5 separate regions of the Homo sapiens genome follow, and regions 1, 2, 3 and 5 are each linked to region 4. Evidence: promoter capture Hi-C in human tissues and cell types (Jung and others, 2019). All regions are on one chromosome and are shown on one strand. The core of a region is centred on a gene start or on the middle of the fragment in contact, and the rest is flanking DNA. Distances in the headings are between cores, read along the strand shown.

What was found. The method cuts DNA at HindIII sites, captures the fragments that hold promoters and counts their contacts. A contact is called where the count stands out against the background at its distance.
Region 1: a contact is called between a fragment that was not itself captured here and the fragment with the promoter of OR6B2 in region 4, in 1 of the 25 tissues and cell types used here (dorsolateral prefrontal cortex).
Region 2: a contact is called between a fragment that was not itself captured here and the fragment with the promoter of OR6B2 in region 4, in 2 of the 25 tissues and cell types used here (dorsolateral prefrontal cortex and mesenchymal stem cells).
Region 3: a fragment that was not itself captured here is called in contact with the fragment with the promoter of OR6B2 in region 4 in 1 of the 25 tissues and cell types used here (dorsolateral prefrontal cortex).
Region 5: a contact is called between a fragment that was not itself captured here and the fragment with the promoter of OR6B2 in region 4, in 1 of the 25 tissues and cell types used here (dorsolateral prefrontal cortex).

The regions. Positions count from the first base shown.
Region 1 is chr2:239,321,685-239,324,699 of GRCh38, reverse strand. The region is part of intron 2 of HDAC4 (histone deacetylase 4); the gene reads left to right. Among named protein-coding and RNA genes, the nearest start is that of MIR4269, 18 kb to the right of the region's middle. The HindIII fragment of the contact is 9,878 bases long and covers 1-3,015 here.
Region 2 is chr2:239,441,301-239,444,209 of GRCh38, reverse strand. No RefSeq gene overlaps it. Among named protein-coding and RNA genes, the nearest start is that of HDAC4-AS1, 41 kb to the right of the region's middle. The HindIII fragment of the contact is 3,080 bases long and covers 94-2,909 here.
Region 3 is chr2:239,414,896-239,418,151 of GRCh38, reverse strand. No RefSeq gene overlaps it. Among named protein-coding and RNA genes, the nearest start is that of HDAC4-AS1, 15 kb to the right of the region's middle. The HindIII fragment of the contact is 3,809 bases long and covers 1-3,256 here.
Region 4 is chr2:240,028,589-240,031,716 of GRCh38, reverse strand. It overlaps OR6B2 (olfactory receptor family 6 subfamily B member 2), which reads left to right and starts at 1,288. Exons shown (of 1, transcript NM_001005853.1): 1 at 1,288-2,226. The coding sequence starts at 1,288. The coding sequence ends at 2,226. The HindIII fragment of the contact is 5,539 bases long and covers 1-2,211 here.
Region 5 is chr2:239,345,854-239,349,028 of GRCh38, reverse strand. The region is part of intron 2 of HDAC4 (histone deacetylase 4); the gene reads left to right. Among named protein-coding and RNA genes, the nearest start is that of MIR2467, 4.4 kb to the left of the region's middle. The HindIII fragment of the contact is 7,160 bases long and covers 1-3,175 here.

The DNA of each region.
Region 1 (3,015 bases), core at 265-2,764, 710 kb after region 4:
AACAGGCTTTCTGCAGCGTGGGTTCCCAGTTGTGCTGTGAGCTGTGGTGCCTCGTGAGTGGGGCTCTTCCGACCATCCTGTCACCACTTGCGTCAGAGTCCTGCGTGCTATCTGCCTGGGGGTCCTGAGTGTGCTGGCTGCTGCACTGAAGCGGGTGGGCTGCTGAGCAGGAAGCCACAGCATGCCACGCAGGCACTTTGGCTTTGCTTGGCCCCTGGAGAGCAAACACATAATGGCAATAGGCTTTACAGGGAGTAGGATTTATTTACTTTATCTGAAGGAGTTTAAAAATTGCTATTGTTCTCTTGGCTTTTAATTTTCACTCTCACCAGCCTTTCTGTTCAGGATACTGTGCGGTGAGGACCTCTTTCTCCATGTTAAGTTCGCACTGGTGAGTTGTGGCAGGATTGGTTTTCTTGTAGGATGGCTCAGGGCTGTGTTTCTTTCAGCTAATTGTGGCTACATTTTTGCCTTTGCGTGTCCAATTTGGGTTTCAAATTCAGGATTGTCCAAGTACTCTATGTTTGAAAATATTTTCCAGAGACCCCAGATTTCTTATTTATGTGCGTTAGTTACTTTTTAATTTTTTCAGCTGCCTTCTAGTTTCACACCTTCAATTGTGCTAATCCTTCGCATTTTAAAAGTTACACCAGCCTTTGTCAGTGTTTCATCAGTGCATACCGTAGCGCATGTGGTCCCGTTCAGATGCACTTTCTGTGGCCTGGATTCTAGGGGAAGCAATAGAGGATATATTTCATTCTGAAATTTGCACTGTTTCTTTTTTAAGTTAAATATTTCAACAGCAATGGATGTTCTTGTCTTTTTTTAGAAAAAATAAAAATGAATGTTTTTGTGGCGCTTCTGCCTGCTTGAGTGGCAGCGTTTTTTCCCTGTGCAGGCCCCCAGGTGTGTGTGATTGGCTGCCCCGGGGCCCCGTGACAGGGGATGCTTTTTGAGCTCTCACCGGCATCTTCCTCCTTAAATCCAGATTGGGCGGAGACATGAATTCAGCATTACCTCTCCCATGTCCACACGTGAAGAAGCACTTTCCAGGCGCACACACCTAAGTCGTTGGCCGCGGGTTCTTGGAGGGCGTGGCCTGAGCTCCCAGACGCCTCCTCTCTCACCTAGCACTGCACAGTGCCTTCCACACACAGGCTCTCCGAGGATCTGCCCCATTTATTGCTTTGATTTTGTTGGATGAAAGCAGTTTATTAAATAAATGGGAAAATACTCCCCTTCCCCAGTTTCAAAAGTTAAGATGTAGTCTTTTCTTTACTTAACATCCAACAATGCTGAAAGATGAAAGAAAGGAAAATGCTCTCTTTACCCTGCCAGACCACATTTAGCTGGGAGGCACACAGTTCAGAGAAAGTCACAGGTGACATTTTGTAGATTCTCAAGCAGGAGCTCTCTCTCTTTTTCTCTCTTTCCCTCTTTGTCTCCCCATGTCCATACCTGTACCTATTACATACACGATAGAACAGCAATGGGATTTTTTTGTAGCTCCGTAATATTTCAGTATTTAAAAATCCTCTGTTAATGGGACTTAAATTTTTTGTATAGTAAATAACACCTCAGCGAGCATTGTTGCACATGTGTCTTTATGTTTGGGGCTGGTTGTTCTTATCATGATTGTTTTGTTAGGATAAAGTCCAAGAAACAGAACTGTGGGGACAAGGGGATGCGTGAGTCACCCTCATCATCAAGAGTGAGCCGTTTGTGGCACGTGCACCCCACCCACTATGGCAAGATGCCTCCACACACCCCGCAGCAGCGCTGGGTTTGTCTCAGTCACTGCAGTTCTTTCTGGGCTTCCCGAGAAGGAAGGGCCACAAGAGTCTGTCCAGGTGCTGGGGCAGACATTGGTGACGTCGCTTATCGAAGCCAGGAGTGGGGCCCCGGGTGTGGGGCCGAGTGACAGACCCAGGCTACCCACACCCGGGCAGGATGAAGAGTCTCAAGAGTGCTTTCCTTAGGCTGGTTCCCGTCCACACACCAGCACTCAGCCAGTCAAGACACCTCTTGTGAGCATCTGCTACATGCCAGGCTGCTGTAAGCACTGGGGTCTACTGGTGAACCACACAGGAAAAGCCCCCACCCATTGCCACACCCAGTGCCAGTGGGAAAGTCAAACAGTAGATGGGTAAATAAACAACTACATAATGGTAAATATGGCTGGCAGTGATGGAGTCTGCCCTGCACAGGCACTTTGCTAAGTGTTTTCTACATATTTACAGCTGTGATCCCCACAACAGCCTACGGATGGGTCCTACTAACCTTACATCATCTGTATTTTACAGATGAGAAAACAGAGGCATTGAGAAAGGAAGTCACTGGCCCAAGGGGCTGTGCCAAGCAACTGACTCTTAACCAGTGAGCTTGCGCTCTGAAGTGTAAGGCTTTACTCCCCTAAACTTGTCATTGCAAGGCAGTAGAATAGGATCTGGAGACAGGGGGCCTTCACTTCAGCATCCGATTGGTTGCAGGCTGAGCTTTCACTTCAGCCCCTGATTGGTTGCAGGCCAAGTCTTCATTCGCATAGGGTGTAACTTCACTTTGGCCTCTGATTGGTCATGAGCCAAGTCTTCATTTACATAGGGTGTAACCAGTAGGAAACCTCTAAAGGGTACTTAACCCCCAGAAGATTTTGCAAGTGGGAGTCTTGAGCAGCTTGCTCTGGAGCTTGCTCCTGCTCTGTGGAGTGTACTTCCGCTTAAACAAATCTGTGCTTTCGTTGCTTCATTCTTTCATTGCTTTGTTTGTGTGTTTTGTCCAATTCTTTGTTCAACATGTCAAGAACCTGGACGACTCGCAGTGAAGACCCTCCCCCTTAACAACCGGATGTGCCATCAGGGATAGATGCTGCCCTGAGAATGATGAAGCCAGTGTCTAGGGGAAGTCCTGGTGTGGGCGGGAGCTGTGATGTTCTGTGCTCTATGGCAGGGCTTTGGAGGGCTTTGACTGGGCCAGAGCAAGTAACTATAAAATGTCAGACCTTAGAAGAAAAGCATC
Region 2 (2,909 bases), core at 384-2,883, 590 kb after region 4:
ATCTTCAGCCAGCTCTGGGTGTCCCGACTCGAGAAGCGGCAAGGACAGCTTGTAGCCTGAAAGTCAGCGGAGTGGTGTAGCCTGAAAGTCAGCAGAGTGGTGTAGCCTGTGAGTGCAGAAGGGCTCTCAGAGCTGCCGGAGGTTGGAGCAAACAAGGACAGCTTCTGAAAGAGCTCCCTTTCGGGCACAGCCTTGAACAATTGCAAGTAAGAGGCCTCCAGACCAAGAAGGCAGCTGAACCTGACAACAAGGAGCTCTGGGCAGGTGATACTAGGCCAAAGGCTGCAATTAGGGCAAAGGGGAATGAAAAGCTGGAACAGCGGAGCCCAGAAAGTCAGGCAGAGGACATCAGGGGCAGGGTCCCAAGGCCGCCAAAAGGGTGAAATGGCAGCAGGCAAAGGGCTAAGGGGTGAGTGGGCAGGATGGAGGCAGCCGCTGGTCTGTATTATGGAAAATTCTTAGAGCTCTCTTTTAATACAAAAAATCATACTCTTTTAGTACACTTTTGTAGGGTTGTAAAAGTTGTCCTGGTTGTTTATCTGTGTATGTAGAGGAATTCATTTAGATTTGGGAATGTGATTTTGAAATGTTAATTAACAGTGCCCCAAAGACACCTTCTTCTCAGTCCTGAGGACACTTATTGACTTAGGATGATGCTCTGAAGAGACTTCTGAAGCTCCAACAGGAAAGAACTGGGGGCCATGGCTCTTGACTAGGACTGGCCAAGTTGAGCGGGAAGAGAGAAAACCTGGGCCCATGAGAGCTGGGGTCAGACACAGGCTGGTGTTCACACAGGAGATGCAGGAGGAACCGCCGATGACCAAGCCGTGGTGGAAGGTGGAAGCGACAAGAGACTGACTTCAGCTCAATACAGAGACACTTCTCCAAGGAATCAAACTGCCCAGCAATGCCAGGGTCCTGTGGAAGGCAGAGAGCTGGGGGACCACCTCCCAAGAGTGTCTCTTTGAAAAGAGATCCCTGCTTTGACCGAGAGATGAAACAAAATGGTTTCTATAGCACCTTCCACGCCATGATGCCGTGATTGCATCTGCCAGTGCCTGGAGCTGCTGTGACCCAGGAGGCAGGTGAAAGAAAAGCCACTTCCCTCTCTGTTCACATCCAGCATTCAAACCATGATGCACTCTAGGCAGTGGTGTGCTGGAGCCCGCTTGTTCCCTTGCCCAGGAGCCCCTCATGTGTGGGCTATTGAGGGGATCATGTGAGATGAGGACTGTGAAGGCTTAGTGGACTCTACCCTGGGCCCAGCTCTGGTGTCAGATGCCTTTTCAGTGCTGTCATGGAGTTCACTTGGGTTCCCAAAAGCTGACAATGCATCTTCCCATCTCTGCTTTCAGTGGCATCATATCAGTAGCTTGACATCTGCTACAATGGGAATATTTACACCAGAGACATGGGCAGATGCTACAGATGAAAGCGTCCCCCACCCCCACCCCACACAACTGGTTGATAAACATTTGCCAGCAACCTCTGGCTCCAGGGCAAGATGCCTCTGACCCAAAGCTTTGGAGCCTTGATTTGGGTATGGAGCGTCCTGTCTCGTGCTCTCTCTGTGCCCACGCTGCCTGCCGGGGCTCATGTTTAGCCTCACTCAGGCAGCTGTGCTGCCTTCTGTCTCCTGGGCCTCTCCATCTTTACTCCTTTGTTTCTGTGCACTCCATCTCATAACACAAATGTGCCGGGAACTGAGGTGAGCACTGCGTGTGCAGTAGCTCATTTAATCCCCATGCCCTGGGGGCAAGGACCCTCCTGGCACTCTCCCTGTGCACAGAGGGGAGCCTGAGGCTCAGAGATACACAGTGACTTGCCAGAGAAGCGCCAAAACTCAGATAATCCAAAATAATGGTCAACGGAAAGTTGGCCTTTTGGGGCAGGAATGGGTGGAGTACACGGATGACATCCATTTGCCCGGTCCTTAAATCGAACTGTGCTCCCTCTGGGCATCAGGGAAGAGGGAGCCTGCAGTCACAACTTGCTGAAGAAAATTGCAAAAAGAATAATGTTTACACAGCTATTCATTAAAATAACCACAGACGTGCACAAAAGCTAGCAGAACCCATTTTCACACTCACGCCCAGGAACAAGAAGGAAATTCTCTTTAGATGCTTTTCCCTGTCACCATGAGGTGCCTCTTTGTATCTGGGGTGAAATTTGACTTGCAGAAATGAGGGTTCTTGGGCATTTCCAAAAACCCTCTGGGTGTCTGTTTCTTCCTGTGTAAAATAGGATCATGCCGGCCACAACAAATCCCTCCCCCAGCACCCAGGGGACTGAGAGAAAAGATGCATGTGGAGATGCTCTGCAAATTACACTCTGCCCTCCCAGAGTGTAATCCTGGGGAACTGGCTGAGGCTATGATGAGGCTCCATGTCATGGCAGTTTATAGTTTAGAAAATTTAGCAGTGGAGCCTTCCAGATGTTCTGAACCAAAATGCAACGATCCAAGGTCTCCTTTGGATTTCAACTTACTATGGATATGTGTTCACAGCCCCAGATGACATGTGTCCAGTTTTCCAGTAAAGGCCCGCTCTTACGAGGGCCGTGCTGCAAATGTATGAAACAAAAGAGCCATCTCTTCCTGCGAGCAGGAGTCAGCATCAGACATCTCAGCTTCTCAGTGCCGCTACGAATGCACTCGCGTTTAGAAAAATGAAAGGGAAGGGCTGTCACTGAAGCCTGAGAACATTCAATGACCCACTGGAGGACGTAGAAATCTCTCCAGGTTTTACGCTTCTCCGTCATGTTTCCACCTCGGTCTCTCCCAAGGAAGAGCAGTAAACACCGGCCTCCCTCCCTCCCTGCTGCCCTAGAACCGTGGCACGAACCCGTATCAAGGAGACCACATCCCCATTGCGGTTAACAGAGCCTTGGGGGGCAGGGAGGTGGGGGGG
Region 3 (3,256 bases), core at 174-2,673, 610 kb after region 4:
ACTATTTGCCCACCCTTATACACATTTATTCCAATTTTCATTATGACAGTTTGGAATTTCTTTTGTGTCCTAGAAACTACTTGTTAGTGAAAAATGTAATTTGATTTTCATGCAAAAATAATTGACTTCAATAGTCTCCACAGAATTTAATTCTTAAGACTGATACCCAAGGAAATTTTATGAGTTTCAATTGTGCAACTGGCAATGCTTCTAAACACGATTAAGAAATAACATAGAATTTGGCCGGGCGCCGTGGCTCACGCCTGTAATCCCAGCACTTTGGGAGACCAAGGCGGGTGGATCACGCGAGGTCAGGAGTTCAAGATCAGCCTGGCCAACATGGTGAAACCCCGTCTCTACCAAAAATACAAAAATTAGCCAGGTGTAGTGGTGCACGCCTGTAATTCCAGCTACTTGGGAGGCTGAGGCAGGAGAATTGCAGTGAACCGATATTGCACCCCTGCACTCCAGGCTGGGTGACAGAGCGAGACTCTGTCTCAAAAAAAAAAAAAAAAAAAAAAAGAAGAAAAAAAGAAATAACATAGAATTTTTGTCTTTTCCAGATCACAGAAGTGAAGTTGTCCTTTCGACATAATTTGTTGAGGGTCACGAACTGTGTGAGGTGAGAAAGTTCATCAGTGGAAAAGAGAGGAGGCGTCAGAGTTGCTTGACCACTGTGGAAGGTGGGCACTGGGTAAACCACTGGCTGTTTGAATACTAACACAATCTTGAAAGAGAAAGATTCTGATCTTGGAACTGTCCTCCACATTTATTATGTATGTATGTGTGTATTTTATTTTGGATACCAATGTTAAATATTCCAAGCTTAGAGAGAAGTAGAAGAGTTAATGACCACATGTGTCCGTGCTTGTTATCATATGTATCCAAAATCGTTTATTCCTCTTTGTTGTGTAGTGTTCCGTTGCATGGATGGACCACTCCGTTTATCCACTCAGTCACTGAAAGACCTTAGGGTTGTTTCCAGTTTGTGGCTATTATGAATAAAACTATGATAGACATTTTCATATAGATTTTTGTGGAGCACATGTTTTCATTTCTCTAGGGTAAATACTGAGGAACAGGATTGCTGGGTGTATTAGTCCTATCCAAGACTGGGTAATTTATAAGGAAAAAGAGGTTTAATGGACTCACAGTTGCATGTGGCTGGGGAGGCCTCACAATCATCTCGGAAGGTGAAAGGCATGTGTTACATGGCAGCAGACAAAAGAAGGGCGCTTGTGCAGGGAAACTCCCCTTTATAAAACCATCAGGTCGGCCGGGTGTGGTGGCTCATGCCTGTAATCCCAAAACTTTGGGAGGCCGAGGTGGGCAGATCACCTGAGGTTGGGAGTTTGAGACCAGCCTGACCAACATGGAGAAACCCCATCTCTACTAAAAATGCAAAATTACCTGGGCATGGTGGCGCATGCCTGTAATCCTAGCTACTCAGGAGGCTGAGAGAATCGCTTGAACCCAGGAGGCAGAAGTTGTGGTGAGCCAAGATCGTGCCATTGCACTCCAGCCTGGGCAACAAGAGCAAAACTCTGTCACACACACATATACGGAAAAAAACACCAAAAAACAAAAAAACAAAACCATCAGATCTCATGACACTTACTCACTATCACAAAAACAGCATGGGAAAGATCCACCCCCATGATTCAATTACCTCCCATGGGTCCCTCCCACAACACATGGAAATTGTGGGCGGTATAATTCAAGATGAGATTTGGGTGGGGACACAGCCAAACCATATCACTGGATCATATATATGGTAGGTGGATGTTTACCAATGGGAAAAAACTGCAACGCAACAAGACGCCTTTTTTTTGCATTGGCTGCACCACTTTGCATTCCCATCAGCCAGACGTGAGAGTTGCAGTTGTTCTGCATCCCCATCAGCCTCATAGTCTCCACTGTGTTTTCTTTCAGCCCAGCAGATAGATGTGAAGTGGCAGCGCATTGTGGTTTGAATTTGCATTTCCCCAATGGCTAATGATATTGAACAGTGATGTCAAATTTATTAATATTTTCCTTCATGGCTTCTGGCTTCTGTGTGCTATGAAAGAAATCTTTTCATGGGACATAAAACTATTCCTACCCCATTTCCTTCTAAGACTCTGAAGTTTTACTTTTTCGTATATAGACTATTTTTCTGCCAAGTTTATGTGTTTGATGTGAAATGTAATTTTATTTTTCTTTTGTTTAATATGGAGAACCCATTGTCCAAGTATCAATGATTTAGTCGTCTTTCTCCTCTGCTCCGTAATGCAATCTCTGTCATAGATCAAGTTTCCATACATACATGTGCTGCTGCCTGGACCCTGTTCTGTTATGCCGCTGTATTTGTCTATTCCTGTGCCAAGGCCATGTGGCACAATTCCTAAAGCTTAGAATAGATCTTGACATTTGGGTAAAACACCTCCCCTCCACCACTGTGTTATTTATCAAAATTGCCTTGCCTATTCTCAGCTCTTTGCTATTTAATGATTTTCAGAAGTGATTTGCCAAAAATTGCATTGAGGTTTTAAAATGCATTGAAGAGAATCATCATTTTTTACAATTTTCAGCTTTTCCATCCATGGATATGGTATTCATTTAATTGAATCCGAGATGCCATCAAGTAGAAGATGCACCATTATTTTATGTGCTATGAGGAAACAGAAAGTGCTGCCAATTGATCTACGACACGAAACTATGACACAGTTAATTTTAAGACATATTTGATTTCTGAGATGTTAAAAATGTGAAAAAATGCATGTTTCAGAATTGATGAAATTTGGTGTATACCATCAGTTATTTGGTTCCGTTTAAAATATATTTCAGTAAGTTTCACAACTGTTTCCACGAATATCTTTTACAAGTTTTGTTAGGTCTATCCCTAGGCAGCATGAAGTTTTTGCACTGTAAATGGTGTCTTTAGAATTCTAAGTGTTTCTGTGTATAGAAATACGATGAATTTTGATGTATGGATCTTATGTCTGGAAAACTTCCTGAGCTTCCCTATCAGTTCAAATAGTTTGCCTATAGATTCTCTTGATGTCATCTTTTTGCCATTGATTTCTAGCCCTATCACAGTTTGGTAAGAGAATATATTCTGTATGATATCAATTCTTTGAAATGTGTTGAGATTGGCCTTCTGGCCTAGTGTGTAGCCTTAGCCAGTGTTTATATGTTCCATGAATGCCTGAAAAAAAAATGTGCTTCCTCATTTAGGAGTGTAGGATTCTTTTGATATGGGGACATTAGTATAACC
Region 4 (3,128 bases), core at 39-2,538:
CCAGCAAACCCAGTCAACAGGTGGGGGCTGCTGGCCTTCCAAGGAGCTCCTGTGGACCCCAACTTTCCTCCTTGTGGACTTTAAAGCCCCCTGTGGCCACTCAGCTGGGAAGAGGACACAGTCACCACCCTGGATGGTGTCTAGAGAGGCTACATTCAGACTCACATCTTGAGACCCCTTTAATGGCAGGGGTTCTTATTGCTTTTGTTTTGGGGAGACAGTAGGCGGTGACTGGAGTGAGTAGTAAATGCTTGTGAAATTGATCCTAAACTCTGAACTGCACGCTGGCATTTTAAGGCAGGGAATGGCCATGCCGCCCCAGTGGATGATCTTGGGTTCCCACAGAATGCTCACCCTAGACGGCAGGAGTACAGGTGCGTTTCCAAGTGTAAACCTGTCCCTGGGCAATTCCCTTCTAGAAGTTTGTTTTTCAGCCTGCAACTCTTCCATGAACTCGACTTGTCTAGCCAACCCCCTACACGTCACCATGAGGCTCTCCAGTAAGTGCCGCGCACCACGCCTCCCCAGCACAGACTCCAGATTATTCGGCACCCACCTGGCCCTCTCCTAGTCTTCTCATCAATTTTTAGCATCCTGGGCCAGAAACCTGGGGTCACCCTCCCCAGCTGTGAGCTGGTGGAAGTCTGCCATTCAACCCACCTAGACTGCCAATGAAAAGAACCACCAGATGCCCTGTGGGGCAAGGGGCTGTGGCTACCCTCTCTCTCCCCCACCTGTGGACCAGGTCCCCCAGAGCCAGGCAGCCCTTTCCTGGGAGCCCTCCCTGCATTCCTCCGGCTGGTTAGCCCAGTTTGGGGTTCTGCCCTGGTAGGCTGATAGCCCCTCACCTCATGCCGAGGCTGCTGCCCCGACTTGCAGGAACCCTCAGATGAAGGACCCTAAGGAGGGCCAGCTCTGTGTCCATGCCCACTTGGATCTTGAGAGCTGCCCCAGGCACGTGTGGACTGGTAGTGCCCCTGGACTCAGAGCTTTGGGTTTTGCCCACCCTGGAGCTGCCCGGCTCTGTTCCTCAGCATATACTCTCTTCCTCATTCCTACTTCATGGTTATATGTAAATGCAAGCACACAGAAGTTTTCTACTTTAAAACTCAGAAGATCAGCAGATCACTGCTCTCTCCTGGTGCTCTGGGGAGCCACGTGGCCTCTCTTTGCACCAAAACTCCCCATCCAAGTCCAGCTCCACTCTCTCTCTGCCTCAGCTGCCCTGCAGCCCTTTCCTCTTGCTCTTTGATGTTTTGTAGGCCTGCAGCTCCCAAGCACAGAGGCATGAGTGGGGAGAATGTCACCAAGGTCAGCACCTTCATCCTGGTGGGCCTCCCCACGGCCCCAGGGCTGCAGTACCTGCTCTTCCTCCTCTTCCTGCTCACCTACCTCTTTGTCCTGGTGGAGAACCTGGCCATCATCCTCATCGTCTGGAGCAGCACCTCCCTCCACAGGCCCATGTACTACTTTCTGAGCTCCATGTCTTTCCTGGAGATCTGGTACGTGTCTGACATCACCCCCAAGATGCTGGAGGGCTTCCTCCTCCAGCAGAAACGCATCTCTTTCGTCGGGTGCATGACGCAGCTCTACTTCTTCAGCTCCCTGGTGTGCACCGAGTGTGTGCTTCTGGCCTCCATGGCCTACGACCGCTACGTGGCCATCTGCCACCCGCTGCGCTACCACGTCCTTGTGACCCCGGGGCTGTGCCTCCAGCTGGTGGGCTTCTCCTTTGTGAGTGGCTTCACCATCTCCATGATCAAGGTCTGTTTTATCTCCAGCGTCACGTTCTGTGGCTCCAACGTCTTGAACCACTTCTTCTGTGACATTTCCCCCATCCTCAAGCTGGCCTGCACGGACTTCTCCACTGCAGAGCTGGTGGATTTCATCCTGGCCTTCATCATCCTGGTGTTTCCGCTCCTGGCCACCATACTGTCATATTGGCACATCACCCTGGCTGTCCTGCGCATCCCCTCGGCCACCGGCTGCTGGAGAGCCTTCTCTACCTGCGCCTCTCACCTCACCGTGGTCACCGTCTTCTATACAGCCTTGCTTTTCATGTATGTCCGGCCCCAAGCCATTGATTCCCAGAGCTCCAACAAGCTCATCTCTGCCGTGTACACTGTTGTCACGCCAATAATTAACCCTTTGATTTACTGCCTGAGGAACAAGGAATTTAAGGACGCCTTGAAAAAGGCCTTGGGCTTGGGTCAAACTTCACACTAAGACAACTAAATGTCCTAGAGTAAAATCTGTAGTGATGAAACAACATTGTATGTGGCACTTTGTGCTCTTTAAATTAATTTTTAAGTTAAATTTAACAAACCTACAGAACTAAGTGAAATTTAACAAACCTACACAACTGTGCACAAGTAACAAGCCTTCGTCTGCATATGTTTTCACAAAAGGACTGTGCTCATGGAACCAGCTCCCAGATCAAGAACTAGAAGCTGCCTTCACGCCCTCTCCCAGTCATTAACCCTTCTCCACAAAAAGCACTGTCCTGACTTCCAAAACCAGATGCTAGCATTGGTGTTTCTGAGGGGCTTACACATAAAGTATGTGCCCTGTTATGTTCAGCTTCTTTCATTCACCGTGTTGCTTGAGTGAATCCTTGATGTTTTTGCATGTAACAATAATTCATGCATTCTCATTGCTATCCAATATTCATAATAAATAATACATTTATACTGTATAATACACAATGCATAATACATTCATACTGGGATAATACATATACTGGGATAATGCATATACTGTATTGTGTATTATATATACATAATACATTATGCTGGGTGAAACCCTGTCCCACCTGTCCCAGCAGGTGTGAGCCACTGTGCTCATCCATAATTTATGCATCTAAACACAGATAAGGTAAGTCAAAATATAATGTCATAATCTTATGGGACCACCATCTTATGTGCCGTTCAGTTCATCATTCACCAAATGTCATTGTGTGGTGCACTACTGCGTCAGTTGAGAATATTTGTGCTGGCTTATTTCTGGATCCTCTGTTCTGTTAAATTGATCTACGTATCTATCAATATCACACCCTCCATCCATACAACACAGTCTTGATTTATATGATTATGTAGTAAATCTTAACACTGGAAGAGTGACTCCTCCCA
Region 5 (3,175 bases), core at 185-2,684, 680 kb after region 4:
GTGACTTGGCTTTGCCCTGCTGATGAAGTGCCCTTCTAGTGCAGTGTGTGTGGCTTTCCTCTCCTGTGTTCTGTGAAAGTCCTCTGCTGCTGGGTGAGTTTTGTGTTACGGTTTTATTGCTGTTCCCGCTGAACTTTGCCAGAGCCAGGCCCTGGTTCTCTGACGTCAAAGCTGCTTAACTGTTGGGATTTTATTGCTCTAAAGAACGATTTCTAATGATGTGAGCGGCCTGAGGGAAGAACCTGGATTGACTTAGCCTGGAAGGGCTCTCCTTTGAAAGGAGGCCCTGGAGCCTTACGCCCCTTGCCCGGCCAGCCCTCCACACCCTCCCTGAGGGGATGCGCTGTGGCAGGGCAGGATGCGTTTGTCAGGACACAGAGCCTCTGCCTTGAAGCCAGAGTCCCTGGCATGAAACCGGGAGTGTGGACGGAAAGCCCACGGGGGCCTGCTGGCAGGACAAGCTACGCCTCCTTTTTTTTCTCCCATTCCCTTGTTTTCCTCCAAGGACAGTTCTCCAAGTAACTGTCCTTGTCTTTCCTTGTGGTTAAGGGCTTAGGATACTGGTGACTTGACTGGCCAGCAGGAAAGGCAGACGTTGTTACTTGGCCACCCACTTAACACTACCCCGTCCCTCCAGTGTCATTTACTTTCCCTTCCGGAATGTTCGTGCCTAGAGAAAGTCTTGCCCAGAAAAGTTCTCAGTGTCAAGGAGCCCCGCAGTGGATTTGCTGGGACGTGGATTTGCTGGGACGTGTCTGTGGTCAGCGGGATGGTGCTCTCGATAGGAAGCAGTGCATTTGCTGGGACGTGGATTTGCTGGGACGTGTCTGTGGTCAGCGGGATGGTGCTCTCGATAGGAAGCAGTGCATTTGCTGGGACGTGGATTTGCTGGGACGTGTCTGTGGTCACCGGGATGATGCTCTCGATAGGAAGCAGTGGATTTGCTGGGACGTGTCTGTGGTCACCGGGATGATGCTCTCGATAGGAAGCAGTGGATTTGCTGGGACGTGTCTGTGGTCACCGGGATGATGCTCTCGATAGGAAGCAGTGCATTTGCTGGGACGTGGATTTGCTGGGACGTGTCTATGGTCACCGGGATGATGCTCTCGATAGGAAGCTGGTTGAGCAGGCAGTGGTCGGTAACTTGAGCATCCTCTCGCTCCTGGAATCTTGGTGCGAGGTACGGATAATGTTTAGTTCAAAACAAAATAAGTGGCCGGGTGCGGTGGCTCAAACCTGTAATCCTCGTGCTTTGAGAGGCCGAGGTGGGCAGATCATTTGAGGTCAGGAGTTCGCGATCAGCCTGGTCAGCATGGTCAAACCCCGTCTCTACTAAAAACACAAAAATTAGCCAGGCGTGGTGGCACGCGCCTGTAGTCCCAGCTACTCGGGAGGCTGAGGCAGGAGAATCGCTTGAATCCGGGAGGTGAGGTTGCAGTGAGCCGAGATGGTGCCACTGCACTGTAGCCTGGCCGACAGAGCAAGACTGTTGTCTCAAAACAAAAAAAAAGGATTTTGTGGGAAACGTGTGTAACTTAAGATCAGTGTGTTCATTTGGGCCATTCTATGATTTCTTAATATTCTGTTCAGTCTGAGCTACCCCCATCCACATAAAAGCAGCTAAAAAGTCTCTGTCCACAATGACTTGGTGATGAGTGAGTTCATGGTAATACAGTTGCTTCAGACCACTGTTGAGTGTTAACCCTGTGAGTCCAGGGAGAAGGCTCTCCTCTGGGATTGCTTCCAGTCCTCATGTTCTGCTCTAACTTTATTTGATCTTGAATCTGTTTATTTTAACTATTGTGGCCGCCAAGATTATTATATTTTAATATAGAAATGATCCATAAAGATGCATTTTTATGGCATTTAAATAATGCTCTGCAGTGGTTGAATGTCTCAGGAATACCACAAAGTGTCTGTGTGTATGTGTGTGTTAGAGTGTGTGTTAGGGTGTGTGTTTTAGACAGGTTGTATGTGTGTGAATCAGGGTGTATGTGTGTTAGGGTGTGTGCGTGTGATGGGGTGTGTGTTTTAGACAGGGTGTGTGTGTTAGGGTGCGTGTGTGTGTTTTAGACACAATGTGTATGTGTTAGGGTGTGTGTGTGTTTTAGACAGGGTGTGTGTGTGAGAGACAGGGTGTGTGTGTTAGGGTGTGTGTGTTTTAGATAGGGTGTGTGTGAGACAGGGTGTGTGTGTTAGGTGGTGTGTGTGTGTTTTAGACAGGGTGTGTGTGTGTGAGACGGTGTATGTGTTAGGGTGTGTGTTTAGACAGGGTGTGTGTGTCAGGGTGTGTTTTAGAGCGTGTGTGTTAGGGTATGTGTGTGTTAGGGTGTGTGTTTTAGACAGTGTGTGTGTTTTAGACTGTATTAAGATATGGGTGTGTGTTTTAGACAGAGTGTGTGTGTGTTAAGGTGTGTATGTGTGTTTTAGACAGGTGTGTGTGTTATGGTCTGTGTGTGTGTGTGTGTGTGTGAAGGTGTGTTTGTGTGTTTTAGGGTGTGGTATGTGTTAGGGTGTGTGTGTCTTAGACTGTGTGTTAAAGTATGGGTGTGTGTTTTGGACAGGATGTGTGTTAAGGTATGTATGTGTGTTTTAAACAGGGTGTGTGTGTCCTAGACTATGTGTTAAAAGTATGGGTGTGTGTTCTAGACAGGATGTGTGTTAAGATGTGTGTATGTGTGTTTTAGACGGGTGTGTATGGTCTGTATGCGTGTGTGTTAGGGTGTGTTTGTGTTTTAGGGTGTGGTATGTGTGTTAGGGTGTGGGTGTCTGTGTATTAAAGTATGGGTGTGTGTTTTAGACAGGATATGTGTGTGTTAAGGTATGTATGTGTGTTTTAGACAGGGTGTGTGTGTTTTAGACAGTGTGTGTTGGGTGAGTGCATGTGTGAGATGGGGGTGTGTGTGTTTCAGACGGTGTGTATGTGTGTTAGGGTGTGTGTGTGTTGGGTGAGTGCATGTGTGAGATGGGGGTGTGTGTGTTTCAGACGGTGTGTATGTGTGTTAGGATGTGTGTGTGAGAGTGAGTGCAAGTGTGTGAGACGGTGGTATATGTGTTTCAGACGGTGTGTATGTGTGTTAGGATGTGTGTGTTTGTTAGAGTGAGTGCACGTGTGTGAGATGGGGGTGTGTGTGTGTTTTAGACGGTGTGTATGTGTGTTAGGGTGTGTGTGTTT